Linked DNA regions of Homo sapiens: all the other regions are linked to region 3. The links are contacts of gene promoters, found by promoter capture Hi-C in blood cells and fetal thymus (Javierre and others, 2016). All regions are on one chromosome and are shown on one strand. The core of a region is centred on a gene start or on the middle of the fragment in contact, and the rest is flanking DNA. Distances in the headings are between cores, read along the strand shown.

Evidence for each region. The method cuts DNA at HindIII sites, captures the fragments that hold promoters and counts their contacts. A CHiCAGO score of 5 or more calls a contact.
Region 1: the fragment with the promoter of GALNT12 here is called in contact with the fragment with the promoter of NANS in region 3 in 9 of 17 cell types (M0 macrophages, fetal thymus, total B cells and 6 more); the score reaches 10.1 in M0 macrophages.
Region 2: the fragment with the promoter of GABBR2 here is called in contact with the fragment with the promoter of NANS in region 3 in 1 of 17 cell types (endothelial precursors); the score reaches 6.8 in endothelial precursors.

What each region holds. Positions count from the first base shown.
Region 1 is chr9:98,805,051-98,809,548 of GRCh38, reverse strand. It overlaps GALNT12 (polypeptide N-acetylgalactosaminyltransferase 12), which reads right to left and starts at 1,879. Exons shown (of 10, transcript NM_024642.5): 1 at 1,480-1,879. The coding sequence starts at 1,850. LOC124902229 (a long non-coding RNA gene) reads left to right here and starts at 1,969. Exons shown (of 2, transcript XR_007061689.1): 1 at 1,969-2,778. RefSeq lists silencers at 1,738-1,807, 1,908-1,997. The HindIII fragment of the contact is 2,789 bases long and covers 122-2,910 here.
Region 2 is chr9:98,707,196-98,711,314 of GRCh38, reverse strand. It overlaps GABBR2 (gamma-aminobutyric acid type B receptor subunit 2), which reads left to right and starts at 2,380. Exons shown (of 19, transcript NM_005458.8): 1 at 2,380-2,898. The coding sequence starts at 2,578. RefSeq lists enhancers at 994-1,288, 3,041-3,611. The HindIII fragment of the contact is 8,458 bases long and covers 1-4,119 here.
Region 3 is chr9:98,054,829-98,059,348 of GRCh38, reverse strand. NANS (N-acetylneuraminate synthase) reads right to left here and starts at 2,617. Exons shown (of 6, transcript NM_018946.4): 1 at 2,409-2,617. The coding sequence starts at 2,540. It also overlaps a transcript of TRIM14 not described here. RefSeq lists enhancers at 1,899-2,018, 3,059-3,108 and silencers at 2,269-2,438, 2,519-2,868. The HindIII fragment of the contact is 20,554 bases long and covers 1-4,520 here.

The DNA of each region.
Region 1 (4,498 bases), core at 630-3,129, 750 kb before region 3:
AAACCAAGGCTCTGAGAGGCTAAGCAGCTTGCCAGAGATCACAGAAGTGACGAGCAAAAGAACCAGGATTTTATCTCCCCTGGGCTGGATTTAATCTGAAGCTGGGTATAACCTGAAAGCTTCCCCTCCACCTTGCCTCAGCGGGCACCCTCGGGGTTTCGAGGAGCTAAACATGCGTTAGGCTGGTGAGTGGAGGAACTACTATCAATCCCAACAAAGTTTTATTCAAAAAGACTAACAGTGAAAAATGCCTCAGGCAGAAGCATGAGGCTAGGCATGAGGAGATCCCCAAAACAGGGAAGACAGTGGAAACAGTGGGGCAGAGGTGGGGCATCCTCATTCCATCATTCATGGTCTCTCTGGCCAAGGTACCATGGAGCAGGCCCCTAAAATCCTGAGATCAGCATGGTGCCAAGTGGGCCAGAAGGGCCATAGTCCCTCCAGACCAGTCCTACCACATTCCAGCTGAGGGGCCTTGGGTGGGTCACCTATCCTTTCCGAACCTATTTCCACACCTGTAAAGCAGGAATGGCTTGAAGGGGAGAGGAGTGGCAGGTGCCTGGTGCACACGGCAGGCTGCCACCACCAGCTCCAATGGGAACCCCCTCTCTGAGTCCTCTTTTCCTCAAAGTCTGTAAGGAAGGGGCTCAAAAAAGGACTTGGAAGATCCCTGACACTTCGAAGAAAAAGTGAGAGCCCGGGAGGCCCAGCGGCAAAGGTGGCAGCAGCCACCTGTCCTTCCTCCTGCTGCCAGCGTGTGCCCTGGATCCCCACCTAGGCAGGGGCGCAACCTGCCCAGCCAGTAGCTCCAACAGGAACTAGGCCTCTGACCACGCTGGCTCCAGTCCAGCACCACCCACAGGAGTGAGCTGGGGTGGATCACGGCCAGAAGGAGCCCTTCCCACCCCGTGCCCCTTCCCGCCTTCCTCCACCCAAAGCTCAGAAATCCAATGCCCAGGGAGAGCACAAGGAGGCTTTCTAGCGCTGAGGGGGCCTTACAGCCATCTTTCGCTTCACCTGTGGGGCGCTCCCTCGCATCTTGTTTGTCCCTTAGGCCCTGGCACACACAGAGAATGAATGGAGCCGGTCACCGCCCGGAGGAGTTGTCAGTTTCGCGGAGGCACTGCGAGGCGGGCAGAGCGGGGTTGTCCTTTGGGTGCTGGGGGGTCCTCGCCTTAAACCCTTCTGCTTAGCCCTGACCCTCACCTTTTCAGGGAGATGATAACTTCTCAAGGAGAAGGGAGCTAAGAGATCACTAACAGACTTGCCAATTTCTGGTAATTTTTTTTCTACTTTCGTCTTTTTTACTTTCTTGCCTCCCCGCCCCCATGTGAGCTCTTACACTATCGTCTTCGGAGAAAGACTCAATAAGACGCGCCATCCTGGAGACCCCAGCTCCCCGCCCTGCCACTGCTCTGATGGAGAAACTGAGGCCCGGGGCTCTGAGGGCGGGCTTCCTCCCCAGAGCTGTGCACTCACAGCGGGTTCCAGCGCTCGGGCAGGCGGCGGTGCAGTGAGATGCGGTCGCTGAGGTAGATGTTAATCTGGTGCAGCCGCACGCTCTCCTCCTGCAGCCGCAGCTCCTCGCCCTGCAGCTGCAGCCGCACCGCCTCGCCCCGCGCGCCCAGCGCGTTCGCCGGCACCGGCGGCCGCGGCATGACCGGCTCGCGCCGCCCGGGGCGCGGGGTGCGCGGGGGTCCCGGCTCGGCAGCCCCGGCCCCGGCCCCACGCTGCGCCCGCAGCACCGAGCCCAGCCCGGCCAACGCCAGTAGCGCCAGGAGCACCAACAGCGCCTCCCGGCCGCGCCGCAGTTCCCGCGGGCAGCGCCGCCGCGCCGTGCGCCCCCACATGCGCCCGCCAACTGCAGCCAGCGATCTGCGCGCCCCAAGGCGGCGGTGGAGGCCAGGACCCGGATCCCGGAACCGCCGTGCCGCCCCGCCCCCGGCCCGCCCCACCTGCGCGCCGCCCCCTTTCCGTCCAGCCCCGCGCCAGCCCAAGCGCAGCCCCCGGGGTGGCTCATTTCGGCAGGGTCTTCAAGTGGGCTGGCTGAGACTTGCATCTTCCTTCTTGGGCTATGGTGCATTATTAAAGAGATAGTGGTGGTAAAACCCTTAGCGCCTGGCATATTGTAGGCGCTAAGTGTTGGCTGAATACACCCTGCAGGGTGTTATGAATTCTACTGCCATTATCTCATCTGATCTTTACACAGTCCAATAAAACAACCATCAACTAGGATTACGAGCTCCCTTTTACAGATGAGGAGATGGAGGTGCGATGAGATCAACAGACACCACGCTGCCCCACTGACTTCTGCAGGCCCAGCCTCTGCCATACTCTTTGGAGTCCTTGAATAGCAAACCCTCGCCTGGCTCGCCTCGTGATAGCTCTGTGACCTCTGAGGCTAGGAGCAAAAGGCCATGAAGGCTGTACATGATAGTTCACACCTGTAATCCCAGGCCGAGATAGGAGGATCACTTGAAGCCAGGAGCTTAAAACGAGACTGGTCAACATAGCAAGACTCCCATCTCTACAGAAAAATTTCAGAATTAGCCATGCATGGTGGCACGTGCCTATAGTGCCAGCTACTCAGGATGCTGAAGCAGGAGGATTGTGTGAGCCCAGGAATTGGAGGTTACCGTGAACTATGCGCCACTGCGCTGCAGCCTGGATGACAAAGCGAGATCCTGTTTCTATTAAACAACAACCAAAAAAGGCCATGAAGCTGCCGCCCTGTTCATGAGATCACTGCTGTGGGAGCCTTGAGCTGCCAGGGACGAAGTAAGTCTAATGGAGTAGACAAATATTAAAAAGATAATTAGAATTGTGTTAAGTATTTTGAAGAAGAATTACAGGGCGCTAAAAGGGCTTAGAATAGTAGAACTTGATCTAGTTTGGGGGTTTTGGAAAGCTTCTCTGATGAAGTAATGTCTACACAGATATCTGAATGTAAAAGTGATAGCAGAGATTTCAAATCATATCTTAAATTAATCTGGAACTCCCTCTGCTGGTGTCTAGCTCAGGGAAAAGAATCATTCTGTATCCCCTGTAGAAGGATAGAGTGTAAGCTCTATTTGTTGTTGTTTGTTTTACCATGGGAAGTTGGTCCAAAGCTTTTTATCAAATATTCTCAAGGAGACCAGAAGCCCAGAAAGTTTAAAAAGCACAAATCTGGTCCAATTATCTCATTGATAAATGCGGGGTCTGAGACACAGGGTGGGGAGAGGACCTTGAACTTGGCGGCTCAGGTAGAGGTAGAATCTGACTTGCTGTTGTCTTCATACAGCCTTTGGCTACTGGTATCCCCAGAGGAAATCTCCCTCAGGTTGCAGGAGGGGGGTGGGTTTTGGGATGAACCATGCAAAGCAGCTCCCACTCAGGACAACCTGCTGCTAATATTAGACTAGAGGGAAGTGGCTCTTCCCACAGTGCTCAGGGCCCCGCCTGCTTCCCACGCAGAATGGAGGCTGCTGGTTAATGCCAGAAGGCGGTTGTGTTAGGTAGGTCTGGACCTGAGCCCTTTGGCCTCTGTTCAGACACCCAACACATTTAAGATCTGCGGTCAGATTAGAAAACAGACAAGGATTACAATTCATAATGTCTTGGATCCGCTTGCCAAATTGGAATGCTTCTCAATAGAGGTTCAGATACAGAGAAAAGAGAAATGCAATTAGGCCTTACAAGACATGGACTTAAGCCCCAGGTAACAGATAAAAGCTATTGTTTACTGAGCACACACTGTGTGCTGTAAACTGCTGGACTTTCTTTTTCATGTACTTTCTCATTTCACCCTATGACAACCTTGCAAGGTTGACAGATGAGAATATGTAGGCTCAAGAAGTGAAGCAACTTGCCCAAGGTTACACAACATGCAAGCGGTAGAGGGAGGATTTGTATCTGGGTCTCCTGACTCACAGTCCAGGATTTCCCACCACACCACTCACTGTTGGGCAGGCTGCAATGAGATGCAAAGGCAGCTTAGCTTAGGAGGTCGGAACACAACCTTGGAGCCCACTTGCCTGAGCTCAACCCAGCCCCATCACGAATTGCAGTGTGACCTCAGGCAAGTTGCTTTACTTATCTCGGCTCAATTTGCTCATCTATTAAATGGTGATCTAATGATAGCACCACCTGAACAGGGTTGTTGAGAAGATTGAGTGATACAGTCTGCACAGTCAGCCTCCCGGGGCACAAAACAGAGTGGAGAGAGTGTCAGTAAGGCAAAGGGAAGATGTCCAGCACCTTGCTGAGTGAAGTATGATATTTAGACCAGAAGCATTGGTACCACCTGGGAGCTTGTTGGAAATCTAGCATCTTTTCAACAGAGGTAAAGCCCTTGGGTTTATTGCTATTTTTAGGGGGCTTATCTGTTCACTAACAGTACCATGTTATGTCATCGGCTGCTCACCAACAAGTAGATATCTCTAGAAGATGCTTTTAATTTGTCATATTAGCTCTCTTCATAGGAGTTATTACATTCCTTTTAGAGTTTAATATGATC
Region 2 (4,119 bases), core at 1,131-3,630, 650 kb before region 3:
CAGGAACTCAGACTCAGGAAGCACATCAGGGATGCAGTTACCCAAACTGTAATACCAGGCCAGAGTAAGATCTTGGAACCAGAGGGATGCCCAGGCATTAGGAGTGGGCTGTGAGATCAGAGATTGGCCTGGAGCCATGCTGATGGAGAGTGAGATTGGTGCCCCCTGGGTCAGGGCAGATCCCAGGTCATGCGTCTTGGGGCCAGGTCACCCCACCATAAAAGAAGACAGAGGGGCTGTAGGGCAGGATGCCAGGTAGGGCCTTCAACCCCTTAGTAAATGTCAGGCAAAGTTACCCAGCTTTCAACTTATTCCCAGATGTAGGTGTCAGTGGACACTCTATATTGGCACAGCTTGCAAGGAGGACACAAATGACTAAAGGAAAGAATTAGAAAAAAGAAAAAAACCAAGTGAAAATGTTCATTCAGAAACCTGAGCTAAGGGTTTGAGGAATGGCAGGTGCCAGAAGACTATGACTGGAGGATATTTGTGATGTCAAGTGAGACAGCAGTTGAGCGAGTATCTGGGGATTACACTGTCCTTTGGACCATTTCTTTCCCTCCCTCCCTTCCTTCCTCCCTTCCTGGAGGAGATGCTCAGGTGAGTTCTGTTCATGCAAACCCTCCAGCTTGGGGAAAAGGAAATGCCAAGTGGAGCCGGGAGAGGTGGAGTCTATAGAAGCCTGGAAAGAGAAGTTAGGGCAGAGAGAATTTGGCCTGGTTTCCCTGGCGCTGTCCAAGGTACTCTCTAGTAGTTCTGCTCAGCCTCCACTCACATCTTTGTGCTTCCTAACAACTCAGCCTGGATTCAGAGCTGCCCTTGCCTCACTCCAGTAGAGCTGGTGTGTGGCCATCATCATCATCATCCGGTCCAAATCCCTCACCATATGCCGGAGGGAATCGATGTCCAGAGCAACTGAGTCAGGGCAGTGCTCCTCCTGGAGAGGAAACTTGCAGTCCCACATCCCTGGCTCCCACTGCACTGTGCACGGAGTTCCTGCTGGCTCTGGGTTCCGGTCCTTCAGTAGCTCTGTGTGCTTCCACTAGCTACAGAACCTCTCTGAGCACCAGTGTATTCGCCTGTAAAGTAAGGGTGAGTAACACAGTATGCTTACAGGGCAGTTGTGGGGATTACATCATAAGGCACACAGTAAGTACTCAGCGAAGGTCAAACTTCCATTCTTGTTACAAGGTCGTCGATATCTTCCACAGTCCCTGGTTCAGGCTCAAGTATGTTTTGTGATTTGATGTCCTACTGTGTTCCTCGCATTAATCAGCCCCTGGGACTTTATAGATTAATGATCACGTTTCCTATTCTTGAAGTATGCAGAGGCACAAGGAACCCAAGGTCTTAGGTCAGCTCACTCGGGTACATCTGGCTCGGGACTGCTTTGGCTAAGATTGGCCAGTGCGACCTGGCAGAGAGAGGGCCAAGTCCAGGGGCGCGCGGCCCCGCCCTGGCCTGAGGATAGTGCTCCCACCCCGGGAGACTTCTAGGGCGGGGCCCATCAAGAATGGGGACGCGGGGAGGTCAAATGCCTGGAGGGGGCGGTAGCGCACGTAAGGTTGGGACCCCAGCTTTGCTTGGGGTTGGCAAAGGGCGGTCGCTCCGTCTGGTGGGGAGGAAAGGGGTGTCCTCAGCCAAGGCCCTAAAGGCCGGGCAGCCTGGCACCAACGGGCGTTCGAGCACCCGTGGGCGTCTTCAGCGACCCCCGGGACTCGGTCAGGGGCTCGTGGGCGCCAGAAAAGAACGGGAGAGCGTAGGCTGCAGATGCCTCTGGGACGCCTTCGTGGAACATTCTCCTGCCCAGACCTTCCCGGCCAGACCTCCGAGAAGCGGTTCCAAACCACCGTGCAGGTGCTACAGGCAGCGCTCGGCGGAGCGGCGGCGGCCACTGCGTGTGCCAGCGCGCGGTCCCGGTTCCCAGATCGCTGTCCCCGGGCGCTCTGGTGCCTGGAGGTCAGCGGTCGGCGGGCAGCGGCAGCTGGCGCAGCGGAGGGCCGGGGGCGCGTGTGTGCGTGTGCTGGGAAGGTGGCCCTCCCCGCGGCCGCCGCAGCGCCAGCGCCTCCCCCTCCCCCGGCGCGCACGGCTCGTCCCCGTCCCTGGAGGCGGCCCGAGCCGCCCCTGAGCAGCCTCGCCTTCGCCTCCCGCGTTTCCTGCCGTCCGCCCTCCCCCGGCCGAGCTCCAGGGGCTGCCGCCTAGCAGCTCCCGGCGGGAGAGCGGTTCAGAGCGCGCACGGGGGCGGGCGGAGGCGGCCCGGTGCGGGGCGGCCGCGCTGGAGAGAGGCGCGCGCGGAGACGCCGGCCCCCCTCTCCGCGTTTGCTCGCTTGCTCCCCGCCTCCCGCACTCCGCTCGCTCCCACCCCTTCCCGGCGTGATTGATCCGTCACGGGCGCCGCCGCTGCCGCCGCCGCCGCCGCGGCCGTTCTGAGCCGAGCCGGAACCCTAGCCCGAGACGGAGCCGGGGCCCGGGCCGGCGCCATTGCGCGGGCGCCGCGGGAAGACCTTGGCGCGGGGCGGCGGGCCGGGCCAGGCCATGCGGGCCGAGTGAGCCGGCGCCCGCAGCCCGCGGCGCGGCATGGCTTCCCCGCGGAGCTCCGGGCAGCCCGGGCCGCCGCCGCCGCCGCCACCGCCGCCCGCGCGCCTGCTACTGCTACTGCTGCTGCCGCTGCTGCTGCCTCTGGCGCCCGGGGCCTGGGGCTGGGCGCGGGGCGCCCCCCGGCCGCCGCCCAGCAGCCCGCCGCTCTCCATCATGGGCCTCATGCCGCTCACCAAGGAGGTGGCCAAGGGCAGCATCGGGCGCGGTGTGCTCCCCGCCGTGGAACTGGCCATCGAGCAGATCCGCAACGAGTCACTCCTGCGCCCCTACTTCCTCGACCTGCGGCTCTATGACACGGAGGTGAGTGTCCGGCTGCCCCTGCCGTCGGGGCTTCGGGGGGCATTGGGGTGGGTGGTTTGGACACAGGCAACCTCCGGCCTTTGGTCAGATCCCCGATTGACCGGCCCGCGCCTGCCGAGGGCAGAGAGGGCTGGTGCCCAGTGTTCACCCCCGCGGTCCTGCTGGGCTTGGCTGGCACAGCTGGTAACATTTGCCAAGCACCCCCTCCTCTGGTCTTATGTGTGTATGTGTGTGTGGGGAGGGGTGGGGGTGGGATAGAAGACTGGGGTCTCTTTTGACCAGAGAAAAAGGAGTGGAGAAGGTGGGGGCTGGACCCCCAAAGGCCTACATTGATTGTCCCTGTCCAGGTCCCGCTCATGGGGCTGCGAGGTACCGAGTGGGAGGAACAGGCGCATTGACTGCAAACTGGGCCACCCAGGGCCGGAGGGGCCGCGGGCCTGCTCACAGGCCCCCAGGGAAGCCGAGCCGCGCTTTGAGGTCCGGAAGGCTCCGGAACCCAAGGGGCTTGAGCGTGCAGCGTGGCTGGGCGCCTGGTGCGCGCCAGCAGCTCTGAGCCCGCTCCGCGCGGGCAAGTGTGGGGCCACCGGCTCTGCAGCGCTTCTGCCTGGACGTGCCCGGCGCTGCCTGTGGCCAGAGCGATTTCAGGAGACCCCTGCCTCGGGTTAGTTGCTCAGAAAGTGCCCTGGCAGTTCTCGTCCCGGACGTGCAGTGGTGTCCGGCCGCGCCGCTGCTGTTGGCCGGGCGGCTGCAGGCAGTTTCTCACGGCTCAGGCTTGAAGCATCCGACCTAGCAGCCGGAGCACAGACTTGGAGAGCAGTCCGGAGCGGAGCCAGAGAGCCAAGGGCTTTCCATCCCAAGACCCCTCCCCACGCCCTCGGTTTGGGTTCTGCCTGAAGCCCCAGAGCGGACCTTCACCGCCAGGCCGGGGCTGGAGCGCGCGGAGCGGGTCTGGAGGAGCGATCGCTGGCCGCGCAAGGTCGGGTTTGCGAGTTTTTCCGGACCGAGCGAGCCCCTGTGCTCCGACCGCAGCGTCTGAGACGCGGCCTGAAGGGGGCAGTGATTTCCTGTGCAGTACGCTCGGTTGGCGCCTCTTCCATCGCGCGGAACGGGGCCGAGGCGCTGGGCTTGATCCTGGCTTCCTGGGACTCTCCGGGCGCTTCTGCTGGAGTCCAGGTGCAGAACCCTTTTGGGAGGAGGGTCGCGCTACTGCTCTGGTGGTGC
Region 3 (4,520 bases), core at 1,368-3,867:
ATTCATGCTATTAAAAACTTCTTGGCTGCCGGGCGCAGTGGCTCACACCTGTAATCCCAGCACTCTGGGAGGCCGAGGTGGGCAGATCACGAGGTCAGGAGATCGAGACCATCCTGGCTAACATGGTGAAACCCCGTCTCTACTAAAAATACAAAAAATTAGCTAGGTGTGGTGGTGGGCACCTGTAATCCCAGCTACTCGGGAGGCTGAGACAGGAGAACGGTGTGAACCCAGGAGGCGGAGCTTGCAGTAAGCCGAGATCACGCCACTGCACTCCAGCCTGGGTGACACAGCGAGACTCCGTCTTGAAAAAAAAAAATAAAAACTTCTTGGGTCCAGAAATGTCAGTGCTGAGATCACTACTCCTGCTCTTAGACAAATCATAAGATGGTAGAGTCAGGACTTGATGCTGGAAAGTTCAAAGAACATTAGAACTGAAAGTGACCTTGGGCAACAGAGCTCTCATTGTCTAGATGAAGATCCCAAGGCCCAGACTGACCTGACTAAAGTTGCACAGTGTCTCTAGCAGAGCTGGCCAGATCCCTTTCCTAAAGGCTGCAGCCACCTAGATTCCAGCTCAATGGAATTAGAGACAGGGTCTCGCTATGTGGCCCAGGCTGGTCTCGAATTCCTGAGCTCAAGCAATCTGCCTTCCTCAGCCTCCCAAAGTGATGGGATTACAGGAATCAGCCACTGCACCTGGTCAGTACAGCTTTGTTTCTATGGCTTCAGTATCTCTAGATATTTCTACAACTTCGGCATTCCAAGAGGAAAAACAGACTGCTCCTTCAAATTAAGAGTGGGAATTTCCCTCTAGAAAACAATGTTGCAGAAGAAAGGCTGGAGTCCTGTGGCTTAGGAGCAAAAACTGAAAAAACCCCTTACTGTATTTATTATACTAGCTATGTGACCTTGCCTAAGTCACTTATTTTCTCTTAGCCTTTAAAATGAAATCGGCAGCATCATGGCATTGGGTTGTTGTAAAAATTAAATGAGATGGTGCATGTACAGCATTTAGCTTAGTACCTGGTAGAGTAAGCACTCAAAAAATGTTAGCAATGTTATTTTTGTAAAGTATTTTTATGATTCAGTGATTAGGTTTCCATAAAACCAGTCCCGAAGGAACAGCAAGGGCCGAGGGTGGTGGCTCACACCTGTAATCCCAGCACTTTCGGAGGCCAAGGTGGGCAGATTGCTTGAGCTCAGGAGTTCGAGACCAGCCTGGGTAACATGGCCAAACCCCATCTCTACAAAAAAATTAGCCCAGCATGGTGGTTCACGCCTGTGGGTCCCAGCTACTCGGGAGGCTGAGGTGGGAGAATCACTTAAGCCTGGGAGGCAGAGGTTGCAGTGAGCCGGGATCATGCCACTGCACTCCAGCCTGGGTGATACAGAGACCCTGTCTCAAAAAAAAAAAAAAAAAAAACCAGGAAAAAAAAAAAAAAACAGTAAGAGAAAACCTCCAGCCTGGGTGACAGAGCAAGACCCTGTCTCTAACATAGATAAATAAATAAATAAACATTTAAAAAACCTATCACAAATGATACAAAATCAGTTGAGTAGCATTGATGAAGGGAAAGGAAAGATGGGGTGAGCTATCTCTAAACCAAAGAATCATAGTGCAGGCCAGGCCTTATGCTGGGGGCTGGGGTCGTAATGAAGAATATGGCAGTCCCAACAGAAGAGGGAGCACGCATTTACCGACTCATGTGTGCCAAGTGCTGGGCTCAGAGCTCTATCTGAGAATCTCATTTGATCCCCATAACAACTCCATGTGGAAAGAACTGTTGTTTTCAAGCCCCGTTTTCAAATGGGGAAAAGGGTTCACGGAGGCTAAGTAAGCAGCCCATGTTCACACAGCTAGTAGTGGTGGAACTGAGATTTGAACTCAAAGGCCCGGCTTTTAACCACTTCATATTTCATATACAGGGAATGGCGGGTGAGAGAGACCACAGCAACTTCCAGGAACTGTCATTCCTGAAAGTAACTCTGTGTCGCTGAAGAATGTCAGAGAAGAATTATGACGGGCTGGAAGGGGCCCAGTCATTAAAATCTTGAAGGCTATGTTAAAGGGTTTCGACTCTACCCGCGGGCAGGAGGGAGCCACAGAAGGTGCCAGGCAGGGGGGATGGTCTGATCAAGTCTGACTTTTAGAAAGATTATTCTGGCACCAGAACGGGGAGGAAACAGGTCGGGTTAGGAGGCAGCTGCTGTAATGCAGAAAGGTCACGAGGGTGGCGGACACGGTGAGGAAGAGGGATCCGAAGGATTCCGAAAACGGAACTGGCGGGCGGGAAGAGGCCGGACCAGGGTACCCAGCCGCGGAGGCCGTGTGGCCCTGGCTCCCCGCGGCCCCGCCCCGCCCCTCCCGGCGCCCGAATCCCGGGTCCCGGGAGCTGCCGCCTCACCTTGGCCATGCGGATCATGCGCTTGGCTACGTCCAGGTCGCCCTGGTGGTTCTGGCCGATCTCGGCAATGATGAAGCACGGGTGTTGCCCGCCCACCCAGCGCCCGGGACACAGCTCCAGCTCCAGCGGCATTGCAGCGGCTCGGGGTCCAAAGCCTCACTACCAGTCTGGGTCCGGCCGCCGCCGCCGCCGCCTCTACTCTGTTCTGTGAGCAACGCTGCGAGACCCACACGCCAGCCCCGCCACGTCAGCCCGCGGTCGCCGGGCAGCCAATCCCCTAGGCCCCGCCTCTCTCCCGACAGCCAATCGGGGCGGGGGGCGGGGGCGGGGCCTCCCGCGGGAAGGGCGGCGGGGCGGGTCGAGGAAGCTCCGCGGCCCTCTCCTGTGCGAGGCTTGAGGCTTGCTGTCCCAGAGCGTGGTCTCGGACCATCGCGGTATCCGTGCGTGCACCCAGGAGCAAGCATTCCCTGCAGGAGGCGGACGGCTGCCTGCGCAGGGCATAGTCTATGTCCTGCTCTCAGGAGCATGGGGAGAGCGCGCCCTATGGTGTAATGGAAAAAACAGGGTTGCTAGAGTTAGAATCACAGAGCTGGATCGAGTCCAGCCTATGCCAGTCACCAGCTCCTGCTCATATATACGTTACTCAGTCTTCCGGAGCGTTATTTTTGTTTCTCTCTGAAGCAAAAAAATAAAATAGAACTGTGAGATGACGTATAGAAACCCCTGATCACAATACTTGGCTTGTAGTAAGTTTTCAAGAAGTGGCGGAGGTTCCTATTATATGAGAGGCAACAGGTTCGAGAAGTTGCACTGGCTTGTCCAAAGCCATCCAGAAAGCCAAAGCAGAGATGGGACTAGTACCCGGACCTCCCAGCCCCAGGCTCTTAAAATACAATCACCTGGGCGGGCGCGGTGGCTCACACCTGTAATCCCAGCACTTTGGGAGGCCAAGGCAGGCAGATCACCTGAGGTCAGGAGTTCGAGACCAGCCTGACCAATATGGAGAAACCCCGTCTCTACTAAAAATACAAAAAAATTAGCCGGGCGTGGTGGTGCGTGCCTGTAATCCCAGCTACTCGAGAGGCTGAGGCAGGAGAATCGCTTGAACCCGGGAGGTGGAGGTTGCAGTGAGCCCAGATCACACCACTGCACTCCAGCCTGGTGACACTGCAAGACTCTGTCTCAAAAATAAATAAATTAATTAATTAATTTAAAAAATAAGATAAGTTATTTCCCAAAATAAACCTCCTTCTTTCCTGGGAACTAGACTGCCTTTGTAGGACTAACAAATTAGCCACAAGATTAGACACGTAGGAGTCATGCACCTGGAGGCTACAAGATTCTGACCCTCCCCAAATTGCTCCTGGGGATAACATCACTATTGTAAAACCTAAGACCAGTGCTTGAGATATTTTGCAGACCCTGCACTTGATGGATCAGCTGGCACCACCAGATTGATAAACTGGTTCATCTGATCTTGTGTCCCCCAACCAGGAACTGACTTGGCACAAGAAGACAGCCTTGACTTTCTATGATTTTATCTCCAACACAACCAATCAGCACTCCTGGCATACTGGCCTCTCTTAACCCACCACATTATCCTTAAAAACTCTGATCTCCAAGGTGGGGCATAGTGGCTCACACCTGTAATCCTAGCACTTTGGGAGGCTGAGGCGGGTGGATCACCTGAGGTCAGGAGTTCGAGACCAGCCTTGCCAACATGGTGAAACCCTGTCTCTACTAAAAATACAAAATGAGCCAGGTATGGTGGTGCATGCCTGTAATCCCAACTACTTGGGAGGCTGAGGTAGGAGAATCGCTTAAACCTGGGAGGCGGAGGTTGCAGTGAGCTGAGATTGTGCCATTGCACTCCAGCCTGGGCAACAAGAGCGAAACTCCATTTCAAAAACAAACAAACAAAAACCCCAAAAACCTCTGATCCCTGAATGCTAGGGGAAATTGATGTGAGTAATAATAAAACTCAGCCAGACTGCACAGCTGGCTCTGCATGAATTACTCTCTCTATTGCAATTCCCCTATTTTGATAAATCAGCTGTGTAGGTAGTGGGCATGGTGAACCAGTTGAGCAGTTAAAAATTTGGGGGCTCATTC